5 separate regions of the Homo sapiens genome follow, and all the other regions are linked to region 4. The links are contacts of gene promoters, found by promoter capture Hi-C in blood cells and fetal thymus (Javierre and others, 2016). All regions are on one chromosome and are shown on one strand. The core of a region is centred on a gene start or on the middle of the fragment in contact, and the rest is flanking DNA. Distances in the headings are between cores, read along the strand shown.

The links. Contacts are between HindIII fragments. The CHiCAGO score rates a contact against its expected background, and 5 or more counts as called.
Region 1: a fragment that was not itself captured here is called in contact with the fragment with the promoter of FZD5 in region 4 in 5 of 17 cell types (megakaryocytes, M2 macrophages, M0 macrophages and 2 more); the score reaches 10.8 in megakaryocytes.
Region 2: a fragment that was not itself captured here is called in contact with the fragment with the promoter of FZD5 in region 4 in 6 of 17 cell types (megakaryocytes, endothelial precursors, M0 macrophages and 3 more); the score reaches 17.8 in megakaryocytes.
Region 3: a fragment that was not itself captured here is called in contact with the fragment with the promoter of FZD5 in region 4 in 7 of 17 cell types (M0 macrophages, M2 macrophages, megakaryocytes and 4 more); the score reaches 10.5 in M0 macrophages.
Region 5: a fragment that was not itself captured here is called in contact with the fragment with the promoter of FZD5 in region 4 in 6 of 17 cell types (megakaryocytes, endothelial precursors, M0 macrophages and 3 more); the score reaches 8.0 in megakaryocytes.

Annotation. Positions count from the first base shown.
Region 1 is chr2:207,953,073-207,956,894 of GRCh38, forward strand. The region is part of intron 3 of PLEKHM3 (pleckstrin homology domain containing M3); the gene reads right to left. Among named protein-coding and RNA genes, the nearest start is that of PLEKHM3, 71 kb to the right of the region's middle. The HindIII fragment of the contact is 6,249 bases long and covers 1-3,822 here.
Region 2 is chr2:207,970,167-207,974,363 of GRCh38, forward strand. The region is part of intron 3 of PLEKHM3 (pleckstrin homology domain containing M3); the gene reads right to left. Among named protein-coding and RNA genes, the nearest start is that of PLEKHM3, 53 kb to the right of the region's middle. RefSeq lists a silencer at 1-293 and an enhancer at 359-892. The HindIII fragment of the contact is 5,414 bases long and covers 1-4,197 here.
Region 3 is chr2:208,010,364-208,014,220 of GRCh38, forward strand. All of the region lies in intron 1 of PLEKHM3 (pleckstrin homology domain containing M3), which reads right to left. Among named protein-coding and RNA genes, the nearest start is that of PLEKHM3, 13 kb to the right of the region's middle. The HindIII fragment of the contact is 4,421 bases long and covers 1-3,857 here.
Region 4 is chr2:207,768,656-207,772,471 of GRCh38, forward strand. It overlaps FZD5 (frizzled class receptor 5), which reads right to left and starts at 1,251. Exons shown (of 2, transcript NM_003468.4): 1 at 610-1,251; 2 at 1-339. The coding sequence starts at 84. RefSeq lists silencers at 2-61, 472-531, 872-1,551, 3,608-3,816 and enhancers at 2,102-2,151, 2,316-3,136. The HindIII fragment of the contact is 9,976 bases long and covers 1-3,816 here.
Region 5 is chr2:207,989,270-207,992,890 of GRCh38, forward strand. All of the region lies in intron 2 of PLEKHM3 (pleckstrin homology domain containing M3), which reads right to left. Among named protein-coding and RNA genes, the nearest start is that of PLEKHM3, 34 kb to the right of the region's middle. The HindIII fragment of the contact is 8,087 bases long and covers 1-3,621 here.

The DNA of each region.
Region 1 (3,822 bases), core at 836-3,335, 190 kb after region 4:
AGTATCCACAGCATCTCAAATAAAACTAAAGGAACAATAGGGGAAATCCGGAAAAAATCAATTGCGTGCCACGTGTAATTGCTAATGCGGATAGTATGGCATGCAGCTGATAGTCTTTGGGTTGAGTTCATGGACTTTAGACTGCAACACTTCAAAATTATTTTCTCCATAAGCCTTTAAGTCCCTTCATAGTGAATTCTCTTCCCAGGAGTTGAAAACTTCACAGTTGGGAGGAAATACACATGCTCAAATACAATCCTGAAATGTACTGATGGTTGTTTCCAAAGCTACACAAAAATTCATTTCTGTTCATCAGAATTTTTTTTTTCTGATGGGCTTCGTTTTATGTTCATCTACAAATTTTATAGCAGTGAGAGATTATATATGAGAAATTGTCATTCCTTGTTGGCTGAAACTGACTCATAAATTTCCGCTGCACAAGCCGGGTGTGGTGGCTCATGCCTATAATCCTTTGGGAGGCTGAGGTGGACAGATCTCTTGGGGTCAGGAGTTTGAGACCAGCCTAGCCAACATGGTGAAACCTCTACTAAAAACAGCATGGTGAAACCCCTACTAAAAACACAAAAATTAGCTGGGTGTGATGGCACATGCCTGTAATCCCAGCTACATGCCTGTAATCCCTGCTTTTCCTGGGGCAGGAGAATTGCTGGAACCTGGGAGGCAGAGGCTGCAGTGAGCTGAGATTGTGCCACTGTACTCCAGCCTGGGCCACAAAGCAAGACTCTGTCTACAAAAAAAAAAAAAAAAGAATAAAGTTCCACTGCACAGAGAGCTGACATGTTAAAAACCATGTTCCTACCATGGGTGACACACATTTAGGTTAACTTCAGCTGGCACTTGTAGAATGGACTACTGCTATAGCTAGGACAGCTCTGTCCTTAAGAATCTCATAGAAGTAAGTAACTCCTCCTAGACACACTGAATGTACCTAACCAAAGAATTTCCAGCCAGGCACTGGTGGCTCACACCTGTAATCCCAGTACTTTTGGAGACCAAGATGGGAGGATTGCTTGTGGCCAGGAGTTCGAGGTTATAGAGAGCTATGATCGCACCATGGCACTCCAGCTTGGGCAATAGAGTGAGGCCCCATTTTTTCCAAAAATTTCTAAAAAATTAGCCAGGTGTGGTGGTCTGCACCTGCAATCCCAGCTACTTTGGAGGCTGAGGCAGGAGAATACCTTGAGCCCAGGAGTTCGAGGGTTCAATGAGCTATTATTGTACCACTGCACACCAACCTAAGTGACAGAACGAGACCCTGTCTCTAAAAACCCTGTCAACACAACAATATGGCAAATATTATGTTTGTAAAGTATTAGTACTGTGCTGAGACACAGTGAATGTTCAATACACATTATATCTAGAGAGAGAGACAAGAACAGACAGATGCATGAAACAGAGATCAAAACCAACAGACATAAACTGTCCAAGACAGAGGCCATCTATGACGTATAATCATGTATTAGTAGATTATACTTGCAGAACTAAGGCAACCAAAAAAATAAAATCAATTCAGATTAGAAACTCCAATCTGAATACTAATTGGTTTAAAATGTAAAGCAATTCTATAAGCTATTAAGAGTTATTTGGGTTTTCCCCCTCTGAATATTTAAATAGCTAAGTCAGCTTTGACATGTAGGACCTACGTTGTGTTAACAGTGCTAGAGGTACTATATTTAAATAAGAAATGAAGTGAAAATCACATGTCAAGTAATTACTGCTGACTGAAAATATAAACTTGCTAAACTCTACAATGTTTATTTAATCTCATGGAATGTTGTTATTAAGATTATAAATCGTGTGAAATAAATTAATAAATACCAAGTAGATTCCAACTCAAGTTGAGAAGTGTCAAGATTTATTGGTCTTTCAGGTAAACAATGATTGAGAACCTAAAGTCAATATTTAGTCAAAATTTATCTTGAAAGGCAATAAATCTTGATTTTTGCTAAAGCACGTAAGTAAATATGTACACCATTTTAGAGAATCTGACTGCTTTCTATGAAATATCTACCCCAAAAGTTGTAAGTATAATGATCTGTAATACAGATTTTCACTTCCGAAGACATGACTTGAGTTGTTGAGTTACTTTTAATTTTTCTTAGGATAAGATGCTTCAATAGTGCTTTTATTGGTGTAAGATAAGTTTAATATTAATAATAAAATCTTACAAATTCAGCTTCTAGTATATTGAAATCAGTCTAAACTTAGTATTTTTTTCATCCTGTTTTTTTCCTAACAGTCTATGACTAGACTTTCTCATTTACTTCTATGTTCTTTCCCCAAAGTCTTTCAAGAAAATGGTAAGCAATTTAAAAATAAAAATAAATAAATAAGAACTAAGCAAATGGATAAACACATTATAAGCAAACACCTTATGTAAGACAGGCTTACTATAAGCCAGGCACTGTCATAACTACTTTACATACACACAAACGAACATATGTAAATACATGTGTATGTCTCTGTTCATTTAATCCTCATACCAATTCTATGAGGTAGGTATTATGCCCATTTTACAGAATAAGAAACTGAGGCAGAAGATGAAAAAGTAATTCTGTCCACTGTTGTACAGCTGCTTAAAAGGCAGAGCCTAATAAAAGTGGCAATGTGGCATTTTCAGGTAGTTATCTCCTTTTGTAAGACATTAGAAAAACTGTCCCCTGCAGATGACAAAACAAGGACAAAAACTATGAATCAATTTACATAAAAGAACATAATTTAGCTCATCAATGAATATAGCCTGGGACATCACAGGCATTAGCATCACCTCTGAAGATGAAGGGTGAGGGGAAGAAGAATACAAATCTATAAAGTAAACAGCAGAAGATAAGAGATGAGGAAAGGAGGAAGCAATCACTATTGTGGAGATCGAGGAAGGCTGTGTCGACACAGGGGCATTTGAGCTGGGTCTTGAAGAAGAGAAGAGATTTTGGAAAAGGAACGTTCATTCATAAAGGCTCAAGTCAGAAAAATGGAAGCACCTTTGGAAACACTGGATATTCTAGTTGTCTGAGGCTCATTGTAAATAGAGGAGTATGAAGAAAAGAGCTTGGAATGATAAAGTGAAGCTAGAACATAAGAATCCTGAGTGCTCAGAGTGAGAAGTCCTAATTAATAAGATATAGCACTTTGGGAGGCTAAGGCAGGCAGATCACGAGGTCAGGAGTTTGAGACCAGCCTGGCCAACATGGTGAAACCCCATCTATACTACAAATACACACAAAAAAAAATTAGCCGGGCGTGGTGGTGGGTGCCTGTAGTCCCAGCTGCTTGGGAGGCTGAGGCAGGAGAATCACCTGAACCCAGGAGGCGGAGGTTGCAGTGAGCCAAGATTGAACCATTGCACTCCAGCTTGGGCAACGGTATGAGACTCCATCTCAAAAAAAATAAAAAAAGATATAGGAACAACCAGAGTTTGAAGCAGAGTAGCAAAGTAAACTTAAAAAAAAAATTTTTTTTTTTAAATTTTGGAGACAAGGTTTTACTCTGTCACCCAGCCTGGAGTACAGTAGTACAATCATGGCTCATTGCAGCCTCAACCCCCTGGGCTCAAGTGATCCTCCCACCTCAGCCTCCTGGGTATCAAAGGTTACAGGTGCATGCCACCACACCTGGCTGATTAAAATTTTTTTTTTTTTTTTTTTTTTTTTTTTGCAGAGACCCAGGGGTCTTGCTATGTTGTGCAAGGCTGGTGTTGAACTCCTTTCCTTAAGCTATCCTCCCGCCCTGGCCTCCCAAAGTGCTGGAATTACAGGCATGAGCTACCATGCCCAGCTGCAATGTACGCTTTGAAAAGATTAA
Region 2 (4,197 bases), core at 1,457-3,956, 200 kb after region 4:
GCTTTGGGGGAAAAAATGCAGGGAGGAAAATAAGGCAGGGGAGAGGAGAGAGAGGAGAGGAAAGAGGAGGTAGGGTGGGGCAAAGAAAAACTAGAGTGCAATTCAAACAAAAATGAAACTCTCTCTCTCTCAAACACACAAAGAGGAGGAAAATGCCCCCCCACCCCCCACCCCAGGTCCTAACAACATACTTCTTTATCAGAGGTTCATTGTCAATCAATTAGCCCAGGCAGCAGGGGTCTGTGATGGTGGGGGGCACCCAGGGAAACAATGGACAGCCCTGTTGTATTACTATTTAATCACTTTTGCTAAATAAATAGAGCAGCCCCGAGGTGCTGTCATGTCAAGGGAATTTATAACAAAAAAAACTTCATTTTTCATTGGTCATTACTTTTTTCCCTCCAGGACAAGAGAGGGTTATTACTGTAGCCTTAAGTTCCATCTTTGTGTTTCTTGCCTTTGATTCCCACTCAGACCCTGCCACTTTCTGGCACTAATTTGTCAGGCTGAACAAAGAGGGGATTTGTACCTCCTGTAAGGTCTCAATTAGGAATGGCTTCTGCTGTATTATGTGCCATTCAGAGAAGACACAATGCCGGTAATTACAGGAATTTGCACTAAATGGCTGAAGAATTCACAGCAAAACTTCTCCCCACCACCTCTTGGGTTTACCCCTCCCAAGGGTTGGAGGGAAAAAAAGAAAAGCAAAAAAGCTCTTAATGCCAGAGAGATGTAATTACCAACAGCAGTCCCAAGAGGTTAAACAGCAGCCAAGGAGTAAAACCATAAAATCTGACACAGTGAAAATGGTGTAGGGGATCCCCCAGGCTCACTGTTTTTCTTGCTGTCTTTGCTGTTAACATGTTCAAATTCAGTTCAGAATTGGGAACACTGCCCTACAGTGGGCCATCCAATTTCATCTCCAGATTACAAAACAGTCATACAAGGAACACTTCCAAAGGTGAGCTTTGCATCTCTTGTCACACTCAGAAACAAGTCCTTGGGCCCTTTTATTATAGTACTCAATTGCAAGGTTTCTTGATTGCTAGGAAATTATAGGAAAAATATCTGTGTGTGCTAGTGCCAAGAAAACTATGTATCTATTAAGTGCAAATAGGTAGGTACAAATGTCAAATTCCTAAAGAAAACAGAGCTGCTTAGATAGGAGGAATAAGTTCTAGTGTTCAATAGCACTATAGGATGACTATAGTTAACAATAATACGTAGTTTCAAATACCTAGAAGGGAGATACTGAATGTTCCCAACACAAAGAAATGATAAATGTTTGAGATAATGGATATGCTAATTACCCTGATCTGATCACTATACATATGTATTGCAATATCACTATGTACCCCATAAAGATGTATATTGTGTCAATTAAAACTTTTTTTAACTAAAAAAAAAAAAAGAGCTATTGCCTTAATCTAATTTATATGGCATTTTGTGAATAACCTAATATAGAATCACATACAGGTACACACTTCATAAATATTTTAATAAGCTGTATAGTCATTTGTTTTAGCATTAATACTATAGCACCACAGATTCCCCATTGCCAAACACAATTTTAAACCTCAACCAGTAATTTCACCGAAGAAGCATGCCTCATTTGCTGCTACAGGTGTCCCCGAAAAGCTGTACCACCAAATTAACTGTTCCTACATACCATTCCCATCATGTGCTTCTCTGCTCAAGAACCTTCTGTGACTTCAGGGTCAAACATAAAATGTAATCTGAACTGTCTTTACTTTTATAGGTCAAAAATGACTGAAAAATCTGCAATTTCACATAGTTCTACCTGGCACCATCTCTGAGAGTTCTCTAACCCAATGCATGGGCGTCACATCTGTAGCAATTGTCACAGCTGCCTTTTGACATTCACTGATGTGATTATTTGATTCATGTCTTCCCTAGTGGACTGCAAATTTCATGAAGGCAAGGACCATGTCTGCTTTCCTCCAGCACTGACCCATCTAGGTGCATCCAAGTTTCTGGGCACACAATAAATGACAGAATGAATGAAACAACTAAGTTTTCAAATTTCAAGAAGTAGAACTAGCAAGTGTAAGGGTCCTAGAGGTAGGCATGATAATAGTAGGTTCCAGGAACAGCAAGAAGACCACTATAAGGCTGGGCACAGTGGCTTACGCCTGTCATCCCAGCACTTTGGGAGGCCGGGGGGCGGGGGGGCGGTGGATCATGAGGTCAGGAGTTCGAGACCAGCTTGACCAACATGGCAAAACCCCGTCTCTACTAAAAATACAAAAATTAGCCGGGCCTGGTGGCACACGCCTGTAATCCCAGCTACAAGGAAGGATGAGGCAAGAGAATCACTTGAACCCAGGAGGCGGAGGTTGCAGTGAGCCGAGATCATAACACTGCACTCCAGCCTGGGCAACAGGGCGAGACTCCGTCTCAAAAAAAAAAAAAAAAAAAGAAGACCACTATGGCTGGGGCTTCCTAAGCTCAGTGCAACCCTGGAGCTGCAGAAGAAGCCACGGAACAGTCACACATAATCAGATACAACTATCAAAAATCAAGTACACATTTAAGAAATATACCGTTATGTATCAGCATATATTTTTAAAACCATAACCTCAGGCATTTTTGCATAACCATGGTCCATTTTTTTCTGCAGGGCTGTTTAAATTTTAAAGAAGGATATAGAAAATTCTTCACTTACAGAAATAATTTAATGAAATAAGGCCAATTGCACTATTTTGTAGATTTAAAAGCCAACATTTGTGGCTCCCCTGAATAGCAAGTAAATGACATCATAACAAAGAGCTACTCCATACAATCTTCCACTTCTAAAGTTTATTCATCCAAACTATTTAAAGGGGGAAGAACTAAGTAGACATAAAAACTTATAAAGGGGCACACTAAAACCATGAAATACAGTGAATTAGCCTCTCCTTAAAATAATACGTAAAGCCAAAACTCATCAAAAACAATGTGCTGAAGTTTTTGGCATTTTGGAAGATCAACATGCTATGCCACCAGCTTTTTCACTGAAGGTGTGTTTTTATGAGGATGCAAAGTTAGAAGACATAGGTACAAAAGGAAGAAGCAGCTGGTTTAGATTAACTGTGTTTGTGAGAAACACAGATCAATTTTTAACGTTCCATCTGCTATAATAATCTCTGATATAATGAACAGTCTCCCAGGTAATTTAAAAAACATTCAGAAGTTTGCTTAACAGGTTTTGGCCTTTTTCTTTTGAGACTCTGCCCCCTACAGGAGATCAGGAAATAAAGTATTCTTACCTAGAAAACCAGAGTTCAGCCTGGCACAGGCGGTGGCTTACGCCTGTAATCCCAGCACTTTGGGAGGCTGAGGCAAGCGGATCACCTGAGGTCGGGAGTTTGAGACCAGCCTGACCAACATGGAGAAACCCTCATCTCTACTAAAAGTACAAAATTAGCCAGGCGTGGTGGCGCATGCCTGTAATCCCAGCTACTCAGGAGGCTGAGGCAGGAGAATCACTTGAACCCAGGAGGCGGAGGTTGCAGTGAGCCGAGATCATGCCATTGCACTCCAACCTGGGCAACGAGAGCGAAACTCCATCTCAAAAAAAAAGAAAAAAAAGAAAGAAAACCAGAGTTCAAGTGCTGGTATGAAAAACAACCTGGTAAACCACAAGTATCACAAAGCAACTGAATGCAGCACTTTCTGAGGGAAGAAAGGGCATATAAATGGAACAGCTTTTCTTTCTTTTCTTTTTTTTTGGAATGTGCCACACTATACAAAATAAGACTGACTTCTCCCTGTCCCAAATTAGAAACCTGTCTCTCTCTGCCCCGTTCGTTAAAACTCCGAACCAAAGCACAAAGTTAAAAGTCAAGCAGTGCAAATAAATTTTAGACTGCCTTCCTCCCCTGATTCCGTACTACTACCCTTACCCAACCTATCCTCCACAAGCCAAATTTCGTGAGCACAAAATTTAGACAGCAAAGGGAAGCATCCTATCATATGGAACCTAACTAAGGCAGCTGCCAGAAATTTCTATTCCTGCCCATTATATTATAATAATACGTTTCCTGTTCTTTTCTACTCAGCTTCCTTCTCCTTCTTTTGCTCACTTTTCTTTTTTTCCTGATTTCATTTCTCCAGCTGCCGGATGCGAATGAGCTTGCTGAATGGCACCTTCTTACCTACATTTCTCCTTCCTCTTGAGTGTCAGGAATGCTACGA
Region 3 (3,857 bases), core at 502-3,001, 240 kb after region 4:
AAAACCACCAGAGATCCAATATGTCTTGCTCTTAGAAACAAAGCAGGAAGACACAAACTTCAGTTACGAAATGTCTAAAAATGCAGACTTGATGTTTTCCATCTCCCTTTGCCTCCATGGCAGAGAACACTGACTAGAAAACAAACAAAAGAACCACTTGAATTAGCTTTATCTTGGGACTGAGAGGAAGAAGGCAAAAACTTCCATGATAAAAACTTTATCAGCCTCCAACTGCAACAGGAGTCACAGGTGAGGTGCAAGTAGGTTCCATCAGGGCCAAGCCAGCTAGTGTGGCTGACTGCAACAGTGAATGTAACAAGGAAGTACAGTGAGACCAAATATGCAAGATACCCAGAAAGGGCTGGGGAAGTAGACTTAAAGATGTCATCAGTTTATATAACTATTTAGAATCTTCTACTTGAGCCTGAGTAATAGAGGCTGTGTTTCTAAATTCAATACAGGACTGTGTTTATCTAATTATCTCACAAAACTAAAACTGAGTTAATCTCAGGAAAAAATCACTTGGTTTTTACAGAAAATAATCATTTTTCACATGCATGGTTTAGAATAAAGTTTAAAGTGCTTGATAACAAATGGCCAATACATATATGAAAAAATGCTCAACATCACTAATGATCAGGGAAATGCAAACCAAAACCACAATGTGATACCACCTTACTCCTGCAAGAATGGCCATAATCAAAAAAAAAAAAAAAAAAACAAAATAGATGTTGGCGTGGATGTGGTGAAAAGGGAACACTTCTACACTGCTGGTGGGAATGTAAGATAGTACAGCCACCATGGAAAATAGTGTGGCGATTCCTTTAAGAACTAAAAGTAGAACTACCATTTGACCCAGCAATCCCACTACTAGGTATCTACCCAAAGGAAAAGAAGTCATTATACGAAAAAGACACTTGCACATGCATGTTTATCGTAGCACAATTTGCAGCTGCGAAAATGTGGAACCAACCCAAATGCTCATCAATCAACGAATAGAAAGAAACTGTGAGATATATATATCTATACATCATATAGATATATATGATGCACTACTACTCAGCCATAAAAAGGAATCAATTAATGGCATTTACAGCAACCTGGATGGGATTGGAGACTACTATTCTAAGTGAAGTAACTCAGGAATGAAAAACCAAACATCGTATGTTCTCACTCACAAATGGGAGCTAAGCTATGAGGATTCAAAGGCATAAGAATGAGAAAATAGACTTTGGGGACTTAGGGGGACAGGGTGGGGAGGGGGTGAGGAATAAAAGACTACAAATCGGGTTCAGTGTATACTGCCTGGGGGATGGTTGCACCAAAATCTCACAAGTCACCACTAAAGAACTTAGTAACTAAATACCTCCTGTTCCCCACAAACCTATGGAATAAAAAAAATTTTTAAGTGCTCTGATAAACTTTTTTTTTTTTTTTTTTTTTTTTTTTTTGAGACGGAGCTTCACTCTTGTTGCCCAGGCTAGAGTGCAATGGTGTGATCTCGGCTCACGGCAACCTCTGCCTCCTAGGTTCAAGTGACTCTCCTGCTCAGCCTCCTGAGTAACTGGGATTACAGGTGTCCGCCACCAGGCCTGGCTAATCTTTTGTATTTTTAGTAGAGATGGGGTTTCATCATATTGGCCAGGCTGGTCTCGAACTCTGATAAACTTCTTTATTTTATTTATTTATTGTTTTTGAGACGGAGTCTCGCTCTGTCGCCCAGGCTGGAGTCCAGTGGCACGATCTCAGCTCACTGCAAACTCTGCCTCCCGGGTTCACACCATTCTCCTGCCTCAGCCTCCCGAGTAGCTGGGACTACAGGTGCCCGCCACCACGCCCGGCTAATTTTTTTGTATTTTTTAGTAGAGACGGGGTTTCACCGTGTTAGCCAGGATGGTTTCCATCTCCTGAGCTCATGATCCGCCTGCCTGATAAACTTCTTAATAAATACTTGTAGTAACCTCAAAAAAGAGAGGTGAGTAAAGTAATGGGACTATTTTAAAGATGATGAAAGAGAACCCATGATTCATTTATTGTCAATTGTAGTTCCCAAAGAAAAGAAAACGAAGTTCCTCAAATCCTTGTCTAATTACTGAGTACTTTGGGCCACCCAAGTTCAATTACCTTTTAAATCACCTTAAATCATACAGGGGCCCTGATGTTAGTAGAAGGACCATAAACAAGGAGTGAGTAGGCTGAATCCAACCCCTCAGCCACTCAGACTAAGTATTGAGTTTGTTCAGTGTGAGAGAAGTGTGGCAATGGGAAGAACATAAATTTATGACACCAGGAAAGGGTCATGTCCCCACACTGCCTTCTGAGCTAACTGACATCCAGCAAGTCAGGCTGACTCAGGGCCTCTGTGCCCTTCTTATCTGCAAATGGAAGTCCTGCCAATGCCTGCTCCCATCTACCTGAGAAAGCAGAGAAGCACAAATGTGGACAAAGTATGTGAAAGTTCTTTACAAACTCTAAAACAATTACTACTTCTATTAGAAGTTAGCTGATTTCTAATCACATAACCATTTATCCTCAACAAGCATTTATAGAGGACGGACCAAGTACCCAAACACTATGTGAGATATTAGACACAAAACACAGCTCCTGCTCTTGAAGAGCTAAATAGCTAGTGGAAAGTAAGACACAAAACCAAATATAAAAAGCACTTCAACAGAAGTATACAAAGGTGTTATACAAGCATAAATAAGGAATCATTACTAATTAAGGGACAATAAAGAATTTTAAGTAACAGAACACAATTAAATGACAATGATAGGTATACAGAGATTACTTCAGTCGAAAGAAATCAAAAACAAAGGAAACAAAAACATACAACAAAACCAATCATTCCTGCTCCAGCAATCATGCTGTGGGCCAGGCATGGTGGCTCATGCCTATAATCCCAGCACTTTGGGAGGTCGAGGCAGGCAGATCACGAGGTCAGGAGTTTGAGATCAGCCTGGCCAACATAGCGAAACCCCATCTCTACTAAAAATATAAAAATTAGCCAGGCATGGTGGCGCGTGCCTGTAGTCCCAGTTACTGAGGAGGCTGAGGCAGGAGAATTGCTTAAACCCAGGAGGCGGAGGTTGTGGTGAGCCGAGATCACACCACTGCACTCCCGCCTGGGCAACAGAGCAAGACTCCATCTCAAAAAGAAAAAAAAAAAAAGAAATCATGCTGCTTCTTGCATGAAGCTGTCAGCCTACAATAACAGCCTCAAAGGTTCCACCAGAGAGTGAGCACTATGTGAACTAACAACCACACATGGAAGGCAAGAATGCAAAGGCCTTCTTCACAAGCTGTTCAAGTCTTTCTGACCCACAGACACATTCCTGTCCAACAGAAGGCCTTTGCTGGGTGGTGAGGATGTCATGGGAAATTAATAATTCCCTCACTTCCTGTTGACTTTAACTCTTTTGGTCATTGCAACTCACCAGCAGAAGGGAGAATACTTAAAACTTTAACCTTCAAAACAACAACCGGCTTATGGCTTAGCACACTCTCACAAACCAGTTTCTATGGGCATTCAGAGTAAATGTATGAGAGAAGTAATTAGTTGATTTATTTTCTGTCTCTGCTGAACTTGAACCTGCTAAAAAGTGAGCCTAGGTCTTTGTTAACTGGCATCCCGAGAGTATGAGACCAGTGATAAGATCTAAGCAAAAAGGTGACTCACCTCTTGTTTGAAAGGGCAGACATACTCAGCAGTGATGGGCTGCATCTATGACCTCTCCCTCCCTTTTGGACTTAATCTGTGACAACAACCTTGGCTACCAATCAGCCTCTTAACCAATTTAGTCAGGAAACAAGCAAGGCTGGCAAAGGCAGACAAAACACTGTCTCTGACCCTCAAA
Region 4 (3,816 bases), core at 1-2,500:
GGACGCGGCGGCCGCCCGGCCCACCAGCTGCGCTAGGAGCAGCAGCAACAGCGAGGGCGGCGCGGATGGGTCAGGCCGAGCCATCGCCCCCTCCCTCCCCTCGCCTCCAGCAGCCCGCGAGGGACGCACACAGGCAGAGGAATCCGGGCCGGGGCTTCTCCCTCCGGCGTCTCGTGTGTGGCGCCGGGGCTGGCAACCTGTTGGTTGCTTTTTCCTTTAAAGAAAACCGTCCAAAGATAAACTGCTTCGGGAAGGCGCTGCCTCCGCTGGCAGCGCTCCGCTCCTCGCCGGATAGGGCTGGGGAGAGACGGTTAGGGCTCGGATTCCAGGGAAAGGACTCTTTAAAAAAGAAGGGGGAGAAGAAAGATTGCAACCACTCCCTGTTGGAGAGGCGTCAACAGTTCGGTCCCCGCGAGCTGTCTCCAAATCTCTTAAGTTAACCCCTTTCCTTTCCTCCCCGCTCCGCCTCCTGTAACCAAACTACCGACTCCCCCACCCTCTCTTTCCAAGCTGGGCCCTTCAGGCAGTGCCCGGAGACCAGAACCCTCAGCTTCCCGGAAAAGGGCACAGGAAACGGGAGAAGAACAGGGAGAAAGGGAAGGTTCTCACCTCCACGGATCCCGCCGAGAAGAGCAGACAGTCCCCAGCCAGCCTGGGTCCTCCGTCCCTGGGTCACTCCGCTGAGAAGCGCGACTCAGAGCCGGGCTGGCGCCCGGAAAGTTTAGCGACAGGCTGGGTACCCGTGGCAGCGGCACATGGCAGCAGGTGGGGGCGACTCAGAGTGGGGGGCGCCCCCAGAACAGGGGCGGCGCAGGCCGGTCACTCGCCCTCTCCTCCTCGGGAGCCCCCCGCATGATCCAGACGGAGCCGGGCAGGGGCAGGCCGTGCGTTCTCCCCGGGGCCGGGAGCCGGACGGAGGGCGAGCGCGCCTGGCAGCACCTGGGCGGGAGGAAGGCGGGAGGCGGGGGCCGTGGGACCCCGCCGCCTCACAGCACCGCGAGCAGCCGGCGCTGGCCAGGCCGGGACTGCATGGTGAGCGCCGGCCGCCGCGTCCCGCCCGCCGCTCGCCTCCTCCCCTGCAGGGGGCTCCGCGCTCCAGTGGACTCCTGGGGGCGGTGGCGACGCTCTCGGGACGTGCCCTGCTCGGCTCCTCCCCCGCGCTCTCGCACCCTTTCGCCCACCTCTGGCGAGCACGGAACCGCGCGCGGCGGCGACCACAGCGGACTCACGGCCGCAGGCTGGCTGCCCTCTCCCGCCCCGCCCGGGTCACCTGCTTCTAATGCCCGCCGGGAAGCCCCGCCCCGGCTCCGCCCCCTCAGGCCCGGGCGCGGTTGGTGGGCCGCCTCGCCAAGCTCTCCGCGCGTCCCCGCCCACTGCCCCGCGGGCTCGGCCTTTCCCCCGGCGCCCTCTGGCCCCGCCAGGAGCGGGCAGCCAAGGAGCGCTGACCAATCGCGGGCCTGGAGGAGATGGGGGCGGGGCGAATGCTAATCATGCCGCTCTGGGCACCCGGGCGGGAAGCCCTTGCCAGAAGTCCCTCCGGAGTTCTCTGCCCGCGCCCTGGGTGCAGGACTCGCTCCTGTAACTTCCTGGCTTATGCACCTTTGCTCCCAGGGCCCCTGCCCTTTCTGCCTGCAGCTAAGCGTCCTTACAGAGTTCAGTGCTTCTTTGAAAGAACTGCTCAAGGAATCACTCTTAGGCGTGGCTGTCTCCCTTCCGAGCTGTCTTGGAACTGTGTGAAAGAAGAGAGGATACTTACTGAGCCCTTTACTGTGTGCCCAACAAAGTGTTAATCGGTTACATCCTTTTTTTTTTTTTTTTTTTTTGAGACGAGTTGTTCTGTCTCCCAGGCTGGAGTGCAGTGGCGCGATCTCGGCTCACTGCAACCTCTGTCTCCCGGGTTCAAGCGATTATCCTGCCTCAGCCTCCTGCGTAGCTGGGATTACTGGCGCCCGCCACCACGCCCAGCTAATTTTTGTATTTTTGGTAGAGACGGGCTTTCACCATGTAAGGCTGTTCTCGAACTCCTGACACCGTGATCTGCCCGCCTCGGCCTCCCAAAATGCTGGGATTACAGGTGTGAGCCACCGCGCCCGGCCCGTTTACATCTTAAGACAAGATCTCACTCCTTACAACAATTCTGAGGCAGGTACTTCCTACAGGTGAAGAAACCGAGACTGAGACTTGGCCAAGGCAACCGAGCTAATCATAGTTCCCCCAAGAAAGGGCGACCTCGGCAAGCAAGTTCACCTCCGTATTCCGATCACCTGGCACATAGTAGCCGCCCAAATGGCAACCCTGGGATTCGAACCCAGGTAGTTGGTCAGCGGCACTCACCATCGTAGCCGCCCCTCCCCCCATACTATCGCAGCCTCCCTGGCTTCGACCTTTACTTTTGCATCTCTTAACAAAATCTTGTTGTGACAAGAAAATGGATTTCTTTCTGCCTTTAGAAGACCCAGAAAGATGTGAGTCCTTTATTGGTCGAGGTTTATAATCCCAGGCAGTTCCGAAGTCGCCCGCAGAGAGAAGCGATACCGACCCAGGGTTCTGTGCTGGGCAGGGCGCCGGCCTCCCCGTGCCCTTCCGTCCCCGGCTGCCTGCTGCTAAGCCGCGCACTTGCGCGCCGCGGGGGGTCGGAGGGCGCACCGATGGCGGGGACACGGCGGCGCTCTTCAGTTGCGCAATTATGCTACAAGTTTTAAATGTCCTAAAAATGCCTCTTTTCTATGTGTTGTAATTAGATTGGAAGACTGAGGTATTTAGCATACTTGAAATACATTCACACGCCTAGGAAGAGGGTTTAAATTTTTTCCTTCTCCCCAAACTTTTCCTTCCACTGGGCAAAGGGCGAAAATAGGCAAGAGGGCCTGGGGACACTTGAAGGGATAGGGACTGGACTAACTGGACTAGATCCAGATCAACCGCGGGTTACTGTCCATCTCCTGTGCTGGATCCCATTGGCACAGGTTGGAAGAATAAATTGCGGAAGTGCCACTCCCCTCCTGCGTATCAACAACGCTTTGTGGGCAATAATGAAGAACACGTGTGTTAATCCCAGCCTCCAAGTTAAAAAGGAACAAATATCAATCACTTCGCGGATATCAAAACTATTAATAAACGTTTAAAAGGCCGGGCGCCATAGCTCACGCCTGTAATCCTAACACTTTGGGAGGCTGAGGTGGGAGGATGGCTTGAACCCAGGAGTTTGCAGACCAGCCTGAGCAACATAGCAAGACCCCCAACTCTAAAATACATAATTAAATAAATGAATAAATATACCTTACATCTTTCTTTCTCTGGAATTCTACAGGTGTTCATATTTTATCTCTTGTGTTTTGGAATTACTTGCCACTCTGGGTCAGGAAGCATCCCAGGGTTGAAAATAGTGGGAGTTGAAAAGCTGTGGGCATAGCAGTGAGCAAGAAAGGGAAGCCCTCAGTGGAAAGTATGTGCAGACTATGAACATGCCAAGGGAGGCCCATCTCATTCTGTGCTCTTTATGCAACGTGTGTATTACTGGGGATGGACAAGTGTTGGCTAATAATAAAAATTATTTGAAGTTGGAGAATGTTAATCACTCACACTGGAATTTAGCCAGAATATTTGTGTTATTTCACACGGTTCTGTCAGAGGCATTTGAACCAGAGCGACTCCATCTTGGATAGGGACTGGGTAAAATAAGGCTGAGACCTACTGGGCTGCATTCCCAGGAGGTGAAGACATTCTAAGTCAACAGGGTGAGATAGGAGGTCAGCACAAGATACAGGCCATAAAGACCTTGCTGATAAAACAGGGCGCAGTAAAGAAGCCGGCAAA
Region 5 (3,621 bases), core at 97-2,596, 220 kb after region 4:
TCTGCAATATGCAGCATAAAGTACTCAGAGCCTTCTAACACGCAAGAGAAGAAAGAGAGGGCTTTTGCCTGGGAAGTTCTTAAAAGTCTTGAGAAGGAGGTGGTATCTGAGGTAGACTTTGAAGACAGGATAGAATTGATATTCAGAGACGGCAGGAAGGGGTAAAGAGCATTCCAGATGGTGGGCCTTCACTTAGATTTTCCCTTTCCTTCATCCATTATCCTCCATCTATCCCCAATTACAGCCTTTCTTTTCCTTTTCACAAGTCCCACTTTCTCTTTATTGCCACTATCACACTAATCTGAGTCCTCAACACTAATCTGAGTCCTCATCACACATCATGACGCCTGGCAGACCTTCTGATTGGTTTCCATCCCTTAGTTCTTTCCACCTACCAATCATTCCATGCACTGTTGGGGCCTGAGGAGACCCACTGAAGAGCCTTCCTTTTCCTCACCCAACTTTTGAACCAATTGAGATAGACAGAGGGTGGTCAGATACATGGGGATCAAAACATCAGACAGTTGGAGGATGCAACTTAGTTGCGTAGCAGCAAATTGAACCCCAGGATTTCAGAGACTTACCTCTGAGTCACAAGCATCACTGGATAGCCAGAGGCCTCCCCTCCTGGGAAACTGCCCATGAAGGGCTGATGGCATGGAGGAGCAGATCTGGGGGAGCGGACCAGAATTAGTGCTCTTAGGACAGCAGCTGAATTACCTGGTTCCTCTCCTAAACTTGCCAATAAGTCACTCCTCCTTCTCATGGGTGGGGTGTGCAAAGGGATGGACGGAGGCCAAGAGTGCTATTCCAGCTGACGTCCCTTTACATGGACACATAAAGCCACTGAAAAGGAGGGTCCCTGCTACCCTATCACCACTTTCACCCCACCAACTTCCATATTTCTTATTAAATACCCTTTTAATCTTGAGTCTCAAGACATGTGTGGTTGCTTCTTGCCAAATATATCACAGTAAGTCTATTCATATGGCTTTGAAGGTCCTCCAAAGTCTCAGCTCACTACTCCAAAATGTACCCCTGTTCTAGGTTAGCCTCCTGACCATCTCATACATACGCTGTGTTCTTTCCACCTTGACTTTGTGCTCAATCCTCAAAGCTCAGCTGAAATAGCCTTTCCTCAATGAAGACTCCTCTGGCATTCTGAGTCACAATCATCACTCTTTTCTTTGCATTCCTGGTTAATAAAATACAGTTTTCCAAGTCAATTTGTTTCATATTATAGTACTCGACTATGTTCAAGCCAGAAACAAACGGAAAAAATGAACTAATTTTAGGTCTTTGTTCTCCTCATTACAGGCACATCGGGGCACACTAATCATGACACTGCCACACATGTCCATAGCAAAGAACATGAAGAGAGTGATACTACAGGAATCAAAGCTGGACTGTGTCTTGCACATATTTAATATGCTCCACAGGCCCTCGTACAGTGTTGGCCAGTGGAGTACACAGATGGTATTCCACAGATATTTTTATTAACAAATTTGTTCTGGTAGAAATGAACTAGTCTTTTCTATGGCTACTTTGGAGACTTTCTTTTTGGGTAAAAAGAGGATATTCCATTCATTTTCCCTTCATAAACCTAGGAAAAAGATTACCTATGTCAGCTCTAGTGGAAACAGACCTGTAACATATCTGGCTACATATTAACATTAACTAGATATACCAGTTTAGGGATCTCTTCCATCCAGTTCTTTGCTATGGGCAACAGTGATAGAGCATAAGTCAATACATTCCTGGCCAATTTTTCTCAAGTGTGAACCTGACTAGGAGATCACAGATCCAACTTTTTAAAAGCAGAGATTTTCTGTCTTCTGTGATGAGGGCAAGCCTTAGCCTCTGTTGAGGTTTTGGACCCAGGAAACAATTCCAAACATCACCTTTCAAACCATGCTTATTCTTTGCCATGGTGAGCTTTTGGCTCTATATATCTAATCTATAGGAATTAAATATAAAAGACCCTCCCATACTTAGGCTGCTGGATTTTAGGCATAAATGGCATTCCATTACAATTTCTTGATGCAGCCTACAGAATTATAGAGACTTAGAGCTGGAAGAGATCCTAGAAATCCCACTAGCACATCCACATGTAAGGCAAAACCTATCAGCTGCCTTCATTAACAGAACCCTAATTTTGTTCAGGTATGGGGGCAATATGCTCAGGAAAGATGGCCTCTCCCCTGCCCTGTAAAAAGAATAATAATTTGTTTAATCCAATCACAGTAATCCTATTTTCCTTTGCCAGAGATTGCCTTAGGGGTGGACATGTGACCCAGTTCTGGCCAAGGAGCGGGTGCTATTGGGAGCCTCTGGAAAAAAAGACCCAGAAGAGATGCCCTGCTCTCTCTCTTCCTGGTTTTTACTGTTGGTATTTAAGAAAATGATCCTAACACATTTGGGAAGTTAGGAAAATGTTTTTTAAAATGATCCTTGGGGCAGCTGTAGCCACTTTGTACCAATGATGGGAGAGAAGAGAAATCACCAATATACCAAGGAAAACAAAGCAAAAAGATGGAAAGCCTGTAGGTCCTGGATGACCCCAAGACCACCTACCCCTGGGTATCCTGTGAAGTGTTTATTGCATAAGTCCTCGACATTCACTAAGTGCTCAATAGTTATCTGTCAGATAAAAGAAAAATTACAGTGATATTTTGGCCTTACTATTTGTGCCACTTTTGGTTGAGTATTTTGTTACTTGCTTCTGAAAGCATTCTGACTGACTGAACACATTTGGAAAGAGGTTCCAGGAAGCAAAATGACTTGGCCAAGGTTATACCACAAAGTGGGCAAGTTGAGAGTGGAACTCCAACCTCCAGACTTTAAATCTAGATCACACTGTGTTTTATTTGTGGTGGAGGGAATGAGTCCTAGCCTTCCTCAGGCTGGAGAAGCGGTTTAACACAGTGGTTATGTGCAGTCTTGGAGTTAGACTTGGCTTAGAATCCTAGCCCTGCCACATACTAGCTGCATAGGCTTGGATGAGGTCATCTTCTCTAAGCCTCAGTTTCCTCATTTGTAGAATCAGGATAATATCATCTATTATGTTAAACTGTTGTGAGTATTAACTAAGATAATGAACACTTCTTAGCACAGAGCTGGGCATAAAATTATCGCTCATTAAGTGATAGCTCTTACTGACAGTATTAATAATAACAAACTTCATTCAACTTGAATCAAGCTGTAACTAAGGAGAAAGGAAAGAGTAGCCCCTTCCATTCTGAATAAAAAACAAAACATCACTATTCTGTCCTGATTTTTAAGCACCAATACACAGAATTCAACCTTCCATGTGTTCATGCTTGGTACAGTACAGTTTTCTACAATACAGTTGGTATCTTCAAAGGACTTCCAATCTGGTGTGGGAGATGGATGGACAAGCAATTATCTATCGTGCACAGCAGAGTAAAATGTGCCATGGGAACATAAAGTGAAAGGGAAGAAAAAAAAAAGAATTTTAATTGAGAAAAATCTGGAAAGGTCCCAGGGAGGATGTGGGATTTGAATTGGCCCTTGAAAAATAATGGAGGATTTTTGGAAAGTGAAAAGGGCAGGGAAAGTATTCTGGGATGAAGAGACAGCAAAGGCCCAGGAGCTTGAAAG